Regions from separate parts of the Homo sapiens genome. Here all the other regions are linked to region 3. Evidence: promoter capture Hi-C in 16 types of primary human blood cells and fetal thymus (Javierre and others, 2016). All regions are on one chromosome and are shown on one strand. Each heading gives the region's core, a stretch centred on a gene start or on the middle of the fragment in contact. The rest is flanking DNA. Distances are from core to core; before and after follow the strand shown. Region 1 holds the start of CCDC71L (coiled-coil domain containing 71 like). Region 2 holds the start of PIK3CG (phosphatidylinositol-4,5-bisphosphate 3-kinase catalytic subunit gamma). Region 3 holds the start of RINT1 (RAD50 interactor 1).

The links. Contacts are between HindIII fragments. The CHiCAGO score rates a contact against its expected background, and 5 or more counts as called.
Region 1: a contact is called between the fragment with the promoter of CCDC71L here and the fragment with the promoter of RINT1 in region 3, in 7 of 17 cell types (total CD8 T cells, non-activated CD4 T cells, naive CD8 T cells and 4 more). The highest score is 10.2, in total CD8 T cells.
Region 2: the fragment with the promoter of PIK3CG here is called in contact with the fragment with the promoter of RINT1 in region 3 in 1 of 17 cell types (activated CD4 T cells); the score reaches 13.2 in activated CD4 T cells.

What each region holds. Positions count from the first base shown.
Region 1 is chr7:106,659,052-106,662,592 of GRCh38, reverse strand. CCDC71L (coiled-coil domain containing 71 like) reads left to right here and starts at 1,435. Exons shown (of 1, transcript NM_175884.6): 1 at 1,435-3,541. The coding sequence starts at 1,697. The coding sequence ends at 2,404. RefSeq lists a silencer at 1,992-2,261 and an enhancer at 2,612-2,661. The HindIII fragment of the contact is 5,408 bases long and covers 1-2,970 here.
Region 2 is chr7:106,863,908-106,867,091 of GRCh38, reverse strand. It overlaps PIK3CG (phosphatidylinositol-4,5-bisphosphate 3-kinase catalytic subunit gamma), which reads right to left and starts at 1,810. Exons shown (of 11, transcript NM_001282426.2): 1 at 1,666-1,810. RefSeq lists an enhancer at 1,639-1,738. The HindIII fragment of the contact is 4,956 bases long and covers 1,347-3,184 here.
Region 3 is chr7:105,530,932-105,534,275 of GRCh38, reverse strand. It overlaps RINT1 (RAD50 interactor 1), which reads right to left and starts at 2,075. Exons shown (of 15, transcript NM_021930.6): 1 at 1,919-2,075; 2 at 1,407-1,452. The coding sequence starts at 1,960. RefSeq lists enhancers at 1,303-1,879, 1,725-1,904, 1,995-2,294, 1,880-2,457, 2,745-2,794. The HindIII fragment of the contact is 4,822 bases long and covers 1,822-3,344 here.

The DNA of each region.
Region 1 (3,541 bases), core at 186-2,685, 1.1 Mb before region 3:
TCGTCATTCTACTTATGCATAAAGCATGTTCTATTGAATTCCTTAGAGTCTGGACAGCACAGTTTGAAAAACCTTCAGTGAAATACAAAGATCACTAGATTAGAAATCGAAGGATTTAGAATCCCAGTTCTGCTATCAGCCAGCTGTGTTACTGAACCTCTATGGTACAGATTTCCTCACCTGTTAAATAAGGAGAATGAACTAGGTCTCTTTCAGGTCAAATATTTGAGGAAACCATTAGCAACTACATGTAAATCACAAAACTCCTATACTTTATTTGTTCACTACTGCAAAATAAGATGTTTCCTGGGTAAAATCCACATGCCCACCTCAAAGTTCTAAGTGTCAGGAGATTTTTTCTTTTAACCTTAAGAAATTTAAAGGAGTTCTGTGAAAATTGCAATATAAAATATCTAATTGTCCTGTTCTAAGCAGTTTCAACATTTCTGACTCTATTTGGGATAATCGGTGGTATTTCATTGATTCATTCGGCAAACACATTGAGTGTCCACTACCTGACAGGAACTGAGTTAGGTATAGAGGACAGAAAAGATGACTAAAGGATGTCCACTACTCTCCTCCCAATACAAAAGGTAATGTGTTTTGAACAATTTGTGTTTTTCAACGAAACCTTATCTGTTGTCTGCGATGATGCATCCTTTCTAAATGATAGGGGTGGCTTTGACATTTTAAAACTAAATGAAAAACGAATTGGCATCCATAAAGAACTGTGTATTTAAAACTATATTTTCTTTTCACAGAATGGCTTTATTGTAATAGATCTTTGATCAACTTGAGCAAAGAGTATTTAGTTTTATAGGGTATGACATGTTTTGCTTTCTGGATAAGCAGGGTCTCTCTTAAATATGAAGATGGCTCCAGTGTCCAGAGGGAGACTAAAATCTCTCAGCTGCCAGCCACGCACATTACCTGAATGATTCTGGATTACTACTGGCTTCTTGAGATGGGCTGGGGTCAAGACAGGGAAGAGTTTTGAATGAAGATGCCAGAAGAGGCCTTTGAGAGGGTGGATGGGAATTGCGAAAGGCCCATTTCCCCTAGACTTAAACCCAAATTCCCTAGCTGTGATGATACCAGGAACATCCTTCAGGGAAATCTCCCTTTGTTATCCACACTGGTAGAGCTCCCAGCTCAATCCACAACTGCACACCCCCTCACTCTAAGAGTCACTCTTCCCATGGTGTAGCCAACATCCACCCTCTTACTCTAGACGTGGCAGCCCTCCTAGATCCACCCAACCGTTGACTTACGTTCAAAGGCCATCACCCACCCCAGCACCATCTTCCAGGAACTGGCCTCTCCCCCATCAGTCCCCGCCCCTCTTCTGAGAGCACCCAATGGGTGGAGTCGGGGCTGCGGTGGGAGGGGCCTGAGGCGGGCACATTTAAAGAAAGGCAGCCGGCGAAAAGAGGCAAGAGAGGAGAAGAAAGAGAAACCAGGGGGGCGAGGCGCCGTCCAATGACAAAGCCCAGGGGTGGGCGCCGGCCGCCATCTTGTACCGGGCAGCAGGATATTCGCCCGCGTCCTCCGCCCTCGGAGGGGGAGGGGCGGCGGCGGAGGCGAGAAAAGTAGCGAGAGACGCCAGCAGCAGCCGCCGCCGCGGAGCCAACGCGGACTGGGACGGCGGCGGCAGTAGTGGGACCCGGCGAGCGTGAGTGGCCCGGAGCGGCCTTCGATGCGGCGCAGTATGAAGAGGCGGCGGCGCCGGCGCCCGGTCGCCCCGGCCACGGCCGCCCGGGGCGGCGACTTTAGGGCAGAAGACGGGGCTGGGTTGGAGGCGCGGGAGGAGAAGGTGGTGTACTCGCGGTCGCAACTGTCGCTGGCTGACAGCACCAAGGCGCTGGGCGACGCCTTCAAGCTCTTCATGCCCCGCAGCACGGAGTTCATGAGCTCGGACGCGGAGCTCTGGAGCTTCCTCTGCAGCCTCAAGCACCAGTTCTCCCCGCACATCCTGCGCAGCAAGGACGTCTACGGCTACTCCTCCTGCCGGGCCCTGGTACCCGACCCCCCGGGGCCCCCTACAGCCCGCGGCCAGGCGCGCCGGCCGGTTCCGCGCGCAGCGGCCAGGAGGAGGCGCCGCGGAGCCCGGGCGGCCGCTGCCCGCAGGAGGAAGCCCCGGCCGCCACCCCCACCGCCGCCGCCCCCCGAGGAGAGCTGCCCGGCCAAGCCCGTGGCCCCCGGGCCCTGCTTCGGGGGCCGCACCTTGGAGGAGATCTGGAGGGCGGCCACCCCGACGCTGACCACCTTCCCCACCATCCGCGTCGGCAGCGACGTGTGGGGCGAGCGCAGCCTGGCGGCAGCGCGGCGCAGGGCGCGCCAGGTCCTGCGAGTGAACCTGGAACCCATGGTGAGGCTCCGCCGCTTCCCGGTGCCCCGGGCATGAGGTGCGGCCTCCAGGGCGCCTCCTGCCGGCCCCGACCTTGGGACAGGCCTTCCGCCCGGAGGAATGAACAAGTGTCAGTCGAGTGTTTACAGATCCGGCCAGGACCCCGGCCCCCAATGCACTTTACGCGCGAAGAAGTTGCCGGATGGTTGTCCCTGTCCCGGGCCGCGGCGCGGTCGTCTTGGACGCTGGGGCAGGTGTGCCCTCTGCTGCCTCCCGTACCCGGCCTGCGGAGGGAGGGGACAGCTGGACCCGCAGGGGAGGTCCCTTTCTTCCTGACCACCGATTGAGACGTCTCCAGGACCTTAGGGGCAGATCCGTTTTCTCACTGTTGGACTCTACCTCACTGGTCTGGAAGTCCTCCGAAGACATTATTTTTCCAAAGGAATTTGGTTTCGTGCTTGTGTAATAAAGCCAGAATTTACTTGTTCTTTATCTCCCCCTTTTTCTATTTCACTGTCACCCCTCTTTGTGGACAGAAGTTCGAACATGTGGTGTTGCACTAGTTTGTGCTCAGGGTATTCTGAAGCCCACTCGTTTCCTAATTTTTACTGGATTCCAAAGCTTTGATCGAGGATATTTTTTAAGAGGTTCAAGCTTGTGACTGTTAGTAGTGCAAGGATTTGTATGGGCTCAGTGATTACAAACAAAGACATGCAAAATACAACTGTTTAAACATTTTCAAGGTATTTTTAAAGGTTTTGTATTGAAACAATGTTTATATTTACTGAGCTCCTAAAAATGGTAGAATACACATGAAAACTTTTGTTTAGGAAAAGTTAACTTGTTAAATTCTTTTGAATTGAATAAAAAAATGCATTGAAACCATATGGTGTGTGATTAAAAAAAATGAATAAATTGTGAAGAACTGGTTTTGGTTACAGGAGTCACTGGAATCCGACTGGAGATGATTTGGCCCCCTGTCCTGGTCTAACATACAAATCTAGGAATATTATGCGTTAAAGTATTTTAAAATACATTATCCTTGTAATGTATTTTACAAGGATAATGTATTTTAAAATGGGAGTTGCATAGGAGAGATGGATGTGTGTAAACATTATCACTAAAATGATAAACAGAATACCCATTAGAATTCTTAGAACTATTAATGATCAAGAGGGGTGGAGGCATTTCTTG
Region 2 (3,184 bases), core at 561-3,060, 1.3 Mb before region 3:
AACATATAGATTACTAAAATAGTACAGTTAAGGTTCAAGTCCCAGTTTACAAGGTGCAACACGAGATGCCAAAAAATCTCACTTTGAAAACAGGCCTTTAACTTACTTCCTCTTTGTTAAGTCTCACACTTCTTGGAACCCAGACACCTCACCCAGCCTTGCTTCACGTTGCCTGTTTTCAAACTGCCTGGACCTAGGATCTACTCCCTAATAAATTTCCTGCCTCTTGGTTTCATTTTTTCTTTCTAATTAGGAAAGCAAGTCATTTCATTTGTAAAGCTAAAACATATCGGAATTAGTAAAGTTACAGTCAAAACCATTTGCAGATATGTAAAATTTTGAATCATGGAATTTGTCAGCATTCTGGCTGTCACTGCTATATTAGGGCAGTATCTTAGAAGAGTCACCCAAGGCTGTACTCTCCCAATAGGAACATTTAGGTAATTTTAACATTGTTTAATTAATTAATTAAAATTCATTTGATCTGTCTCTACTTAATAATGGAGGAGCTACAGGATGGAAGGCAGGATTTCTGGACTCCAGTGACCTTCTGTTAAGACCCCCAATCATTTAACTTCTTTTTTGCTCTAATATTTTCATTTTTGTAACACAAATTCACAAATTTATTCTCATTAACCTACTCACTCTTTCCACAAAATTCAGTAAGTACCTACCCTTCACAAAGCACTTATGTATAAATAGGACATACTGCAATAGGAAATCCTTCAAATAATAATTGAAATTTGAAAGGTATTAACACTGAAAGATTAGGTATTTTGCTTTCAATGTTTAGTATCACTACATTGTAATACATTATATTCTAAACGAATCAATTATTGAAACAAAAAATTAATGTTTCAGAAAATATCGTTTACTCTCTTAAATAACTAATGTTAGACTTAAAACTACATTATTTCCTTAAGAAATAGTGGAGCATTTGATGTATACCAAAAAGGAGAGCTTGATAAGAAGATAAGAAAGACAAATTTCATTTGATCCAAACTTATGTTCAAATCTTGGCTTAACTTTTAAAACCAATATTCCCTCTCTTAAAATATGAAGTTATACTTAGTAAGTGAAACCAACTGTCCCAAAGAACTGTCTCTTGTGGCTTAAAACATTCATTTTGGTCTTTTGCTACATTATAGAATAACTAACAAAGAAGAGAACTGTAAGATACATTGATATTGACACTAACTTGAAATAAAACATGTCCAAATTTAGGCAGCATATAAATACACAGCAATAACTTCTGCCTCAGTGATACCAAACGATCTTATAAGATGCAGAGGAAAACAGGCTGACTAATACTCACTGGTTTCCTTCATGGTTGAGGCTATGAAGCTTTCCCCTTTTATGAGAAGATGTTGGAAACACTGTAAGTACAGTAATCTTGAAGCATGCACTTGTAGGAATATGAAGCCTGGCTGCCGTGCCCTCCCTTTTCCTCCCAAAACAAAAACAAAAATGTGATGCACCTGCAAAACTATTGCCGGAACGTTGTAGATATCCACAATACAGGTTGGACTAGACAATGAAACACAGACATTCGGTGGTAGTATCATCTCAAGAACCGACAACAGTTTCAGATAATCTAGCCGAGAAGGAAGTGCCACTATTCCGAGTCAGACCCCACAAAGAGCAAAAAATAGAAGGAAGCAATACCTGATAAAGCAGCGGAGGCGATGATGCTGAAGGATCATTTGTTTAATTTTTGAAAACAAAACAAATTCAAACCTACCCAGTGTGCGTCTAAATTCTTCCGCTTTTCTGGGGCTCCCTTCATATCCAGATGCAGAGGAAGTGTTGCAGTTACCAGGAAGGAAGTTTTAACCAAGTTGATTATACGTGTGATTGCTCATTTTAAAAGTGTCAGAAATGCATTTCCTGTTTTAGCATAGAGAGGGTAGGAGTATGAGACTGAGCAATGTTTACCATGGTTTTTCTTTTCTTTTTTTTTTCTCTTTGAACTAATTTTTCAAAAATTGTGATACTGAGACAAAATGACATAAATCCAAACCAAAATTACCCATTATGAGACATAAACATATGAAATATCTTTGTAGCTAGTTCTAAGAGCCACAGTATTAGGTATCCTATTAGGAAGACTTTTACCAGTCAAATTAAACTCATTCCCCTCCTGGGAATTCAAAAGAATCCTTGTTCGCACATGCTAACTGAGGGGTGGGGGAAGAGAAACCTAGTCATCTTGAGGACTAAGTTATCAAGCTGAAAATTTTTAAAGGCATGGTCTGCAAGCTCACTTCCTTAGCTTGGTGAGAGCTTTCTCTATTTTTTCAGAGCATTTGGGGCCTAAAATATCACTGGCTCAAACTGAAAGCACTGCAGCATGTGCATGTGTGTATATAAATGTGACATACTGCAGTAAGTAACCCTTCAAATAATGGTTGAAATGCTAAAAGTATTAAAATTGAAAGATGAATAAAAAGGTATTTTGATTTTAATACTAAGTACCACTACATTGTAACACATTATATTCCAAACAAGGATCAACTATTGAAACAAAAATTAATGCTTCAGAAAATATCCTGTGTTGAGGATGGAGCCTTACTGTCAGCAATGACTGATTAATTAACTGTAGACAAAACAGAAGGAGGTTGCCTGTTATCATGGGGAAATTGGGGAGCTGAACACTGTTACAGCATCAGGCAGATTCCATCCTGGGAGGTGGCCCCTGATTCCTATGGGAGTAGAGAATGCATAGAAAAGCCATCCTGAATCATTTTTAGAGTAGCGTTGTATCTTCCAGGTGACCTCAGTTCTTTCTAGAACCTCCAAGCATCCTGAACCAGCGCCCCCTCCCTCCATCTCAGAATTCCCTATGCTAGAGTTCATCCTCCAATCGGGGTGTTGAGGGACTCCAGCTGAGCTTCAAGGGCAGCAGATAGAATGGAGTTGACCTCACAAGTCTCTTGGAGGTATGTAATTAAGAGTTCCTCTGAATTACTCTGATATTGAGATAAATGATTGATTTGACTTATTTCCTTTTACATATGCCTCTTGGGTTTTAACTTTTAAATAGCACTCTAATAGTTGACATCAGCAGGCAAATAATTTAATTCAAAGGCTGCCTCCCAAATATTTAGAGGGGTCTTATCAGCTTCTCAAAGTATATTCCTATATAGGAATACTCCCTTAGGAGGCTGGCAGCTTTAGAAGCACC
Region 3 (3,344 bases), core at 826-3,325:
CCAAAATGGTGAAACCCTGCCTCTACTAAAAATACAAAAATTAGCCGGGTGTTTGGCGGGCACCAGTAATCCCAGCTACTGAGGAGGCCGAGGCAGGGGAATTACTTGAACTCAGAGGCGGAGCTTGCAGTAAGGCGAGATCGCGCCACTGCACTCCAGCCTGAGAGACAGAGTGAGACTAAGTCTCAAAAAAAAAAAAAATTACACCCTTGATGTGTAACCATTCAAATGTGGCATAGTACATTCTTAGTGAAATGACATTCTTCAAAATGACACACCGGTGGTTTGGGAGGTTTTTATGTGTCTCCTTTTCTATTTTTTGTAAAGAGCACTCCTAACTGCAAAGCAGTTTGAGCTGTGGAAAGAGGAACAAGGTCAAAGTCCTTGATATGATAGTCTACATCTATTATTTTATTAAAATGACAGCTCAGTAGGCATCAGACTACTTTCCAGGCATCTGAATGAGGCAAAGGTGGAAAATGGAAAGGGAAGGGTTTAACTGAGAGATACAAGGCACTCTGAAATCCTTCAAGAAAAAGGAGCTGAGATGTGGCAGTTATGACAGTCATGTGCTATGGACTGCTCAGAGCCTTCTTTCTGAGGCAGATTCTATCAGCCGCTAATGTTAAGGGCAAATCTTACTCCTAAGGGCCATGTGCTAATGTGGGCACCGTTTTTCTTACTGCTACACATTCCCAACTGTTTGCCACAGTCAAAAGAACCAAAAATCCCAATAGCAGAGCTATCACATGCTTTTCCCCTTCCTCTCCCAAAAAATGTCACTTCAAAGGTCCCTAAAGAGCCCTTGATTTGCAATAACCTGCCATCAAAGTAAAATGGCAAAAGTCCACAACCCTGACATATACTCCCGTACTAGGGAGGAAATGGTGGTACTGACCTTTTCCCCCTTTCCTGTCCAGTCCAAGATCCAGAACCCAAGTTATCCGTTGTGCTCTTGCCAGAGCAATTTTAAATTGCCAATTTACTGAAGGTGAACTAAACAACTGTCATTTGCCTCCTTTGAACCCAATTAGGGTGGTGGTCGTCTGTCCTAGATCATGGGCCCCTCCAAATTCCTGATGCTTAGTAAGTTGATGTTTCATTAAAATGACAGGCAGGCCCCAATTATTCTGAGTACTGTATGATAGGCAGACTTCCAGCGAAAACACTCTAGTCCCTGTACTAGGTATGGATCGGGAAGTGCTCTTCTCCAAAGCATCCCATATTTTACAATTTTAGAAAGACAAAAATATGTGTATCATGGTCATCAGTATTACCATATAAGCATATTGTGCAGAAAACGGTACTGCATCTAAAAGATAGGCAAAGAACCTTTCTATATTGCAGACCCTGGAAGGCTGAGTTTGGGCGGGAAGAAAAAGCTAAGGTGTTTGGAGCTGGCTTACTTTTCTCCTCGAGGTTCTTCCTTTCGTCACCACTTTCAGAGCAGCACTAGAAGAAGAACAGATGTGACAAGCACATTAAGATTAAAGTCGTGGATGGAAAGCATACGGGGCTCCCAAAGGGCACCCACTGGAGGCAAGAGAGGTTCCAGACGCTCTCCCACTTTCTGAGCGACCAGGGCCGTCCGAATCAGGTACCTCAAAGTGCCACTGTCCTGGTGCCACCGCCACCTTCCCAGGAGGTGTGTGTCACCTCCGCAGGACCTGGAGTTACCTTGCCTGCTCACTAGAGCCACCTCCCTAGAGAAATCTGTCATCTCACCAGGGCCGCCAAAGCCACTTCACGGGGACTACCGCCTCCTCTAGGAGGTCTTACAAGGGCCTCTAATCTAAGCCGCAGGAAGCACCTTCACAAGCTTACAGGGCCACCGCACCGGGACTATCTCCCCCGGGAGGTCTGTGCCACCTCAATGGGCCACCAATGTCCCCTCCCAGGGACGCCAGGGCCGTCTCACCGGGGCTGCAGGAGAGGCGCCGATCTCGCCGGCTGGTAGCATCTCGCCTCCGCGCGAGTCCTCGGCTCCATTCGCAGCCAGCGTGGCCTGTGGAGTCTGGCTAAGGCCAGCGACACACTCACTACCCAGCCTCGGAGGCCGTAGGACTGAGTGCCACAGCGACTTCCTCTCGATGTCTCACTGGTTTCTTCCTCTCAGCCCAGAGAGGCCCTGCCCGTGCAGCCGCCGGCCGTGCTCTGTTCCTCCCCCTCCTGACCGGAGGTCGGAACGGCCACTCAGGAAGCGGGCACCCTCCCCTATGGAGCTCCAGAGAAGGGATTCGCTCACTCCACCGCGGTAAAAGTCCCCTCCACTTTATTGAAGCTCTTAATGATGGAACTTTAAGATATCCCTCTCCCAACGCCTTAAATTCAATATGAATAATTTAAATTTATATTTTAGGCAATATCCAGATGTTCTGAGAGTGTGGGGGGCTTGTTGACTAGGAGCTTCGGTGCAGGGTTATTTGGTTCGAATATTTAGTTGGGGGTTTCCAATGAATGTCAGTATCTTTAGATATTTCTTTTAACGTTGGTCAGAGTCCCTAGAGATGAGCTTCTGATTTCCTGCCTAGAGGGTGTAGAGGTGGTTATAAGCGTTCTGGGAGCTGAATGAAGAGAACAGAGCATCTAACATGTGTTTCGCCCAAAACCCTGTCTTTTACCAGGGAGGAGGAAAGGGAGCTACCTAGCAGCAAGGGTTGTGTAGAGGACCTGTGGACTTGACAGCCTCTTAAACAAACTAACACGGAAGGAGTACCATAGAGACCATAACAAACAAGGGGGGGGGAAAGCAACCCTCAGAGGAAAAAGAAACCACACGGTGAGAAGAAAAATCAAATACATGTGCACAGAGATATATAATCGAGCTACAAATTACTATTGCAAGCATAAAACAAGGATGGCTGGGCGCTGTGGCTCACGCCTGTAATCCCAGCACTTTGGGAGGCCGAGGCAGGCAGATTACGAGGTCAGGAGATCGAGACCATCCTGGCTAACATGGTGAAACCCCGTCTCTACTAAAAATACAAAAAATTAGCCAGGCGTGGTGGTGGGCGCCTGTAGTCCCAGCTACTCAGGAGGCTGAGGCAGGAGAATGGCGTGAACCCGGGAGGTGGAGCGTGCAGTGAGCAGAGACCGCACCACTGCACTCTAGCCTGGACGACAGAGCAAGACTCCGTCTCATTTAAAAAAAAAAAAAAAAACAAGGATACTATTTTTTAAATTACCTATTATGGGAACATAATCGTATATATTTATAGTGTACATGTGTGTTTGTTTTTTTTTTGCTCAGGCTGGGGTGCAATGGCGTTATCTCTGCTCGCAGCAACCTCCGCCTCCCAGGTTCAAGCGATTCGCCTGCCTCAGCCTCCCAAGTAGCTGGGATT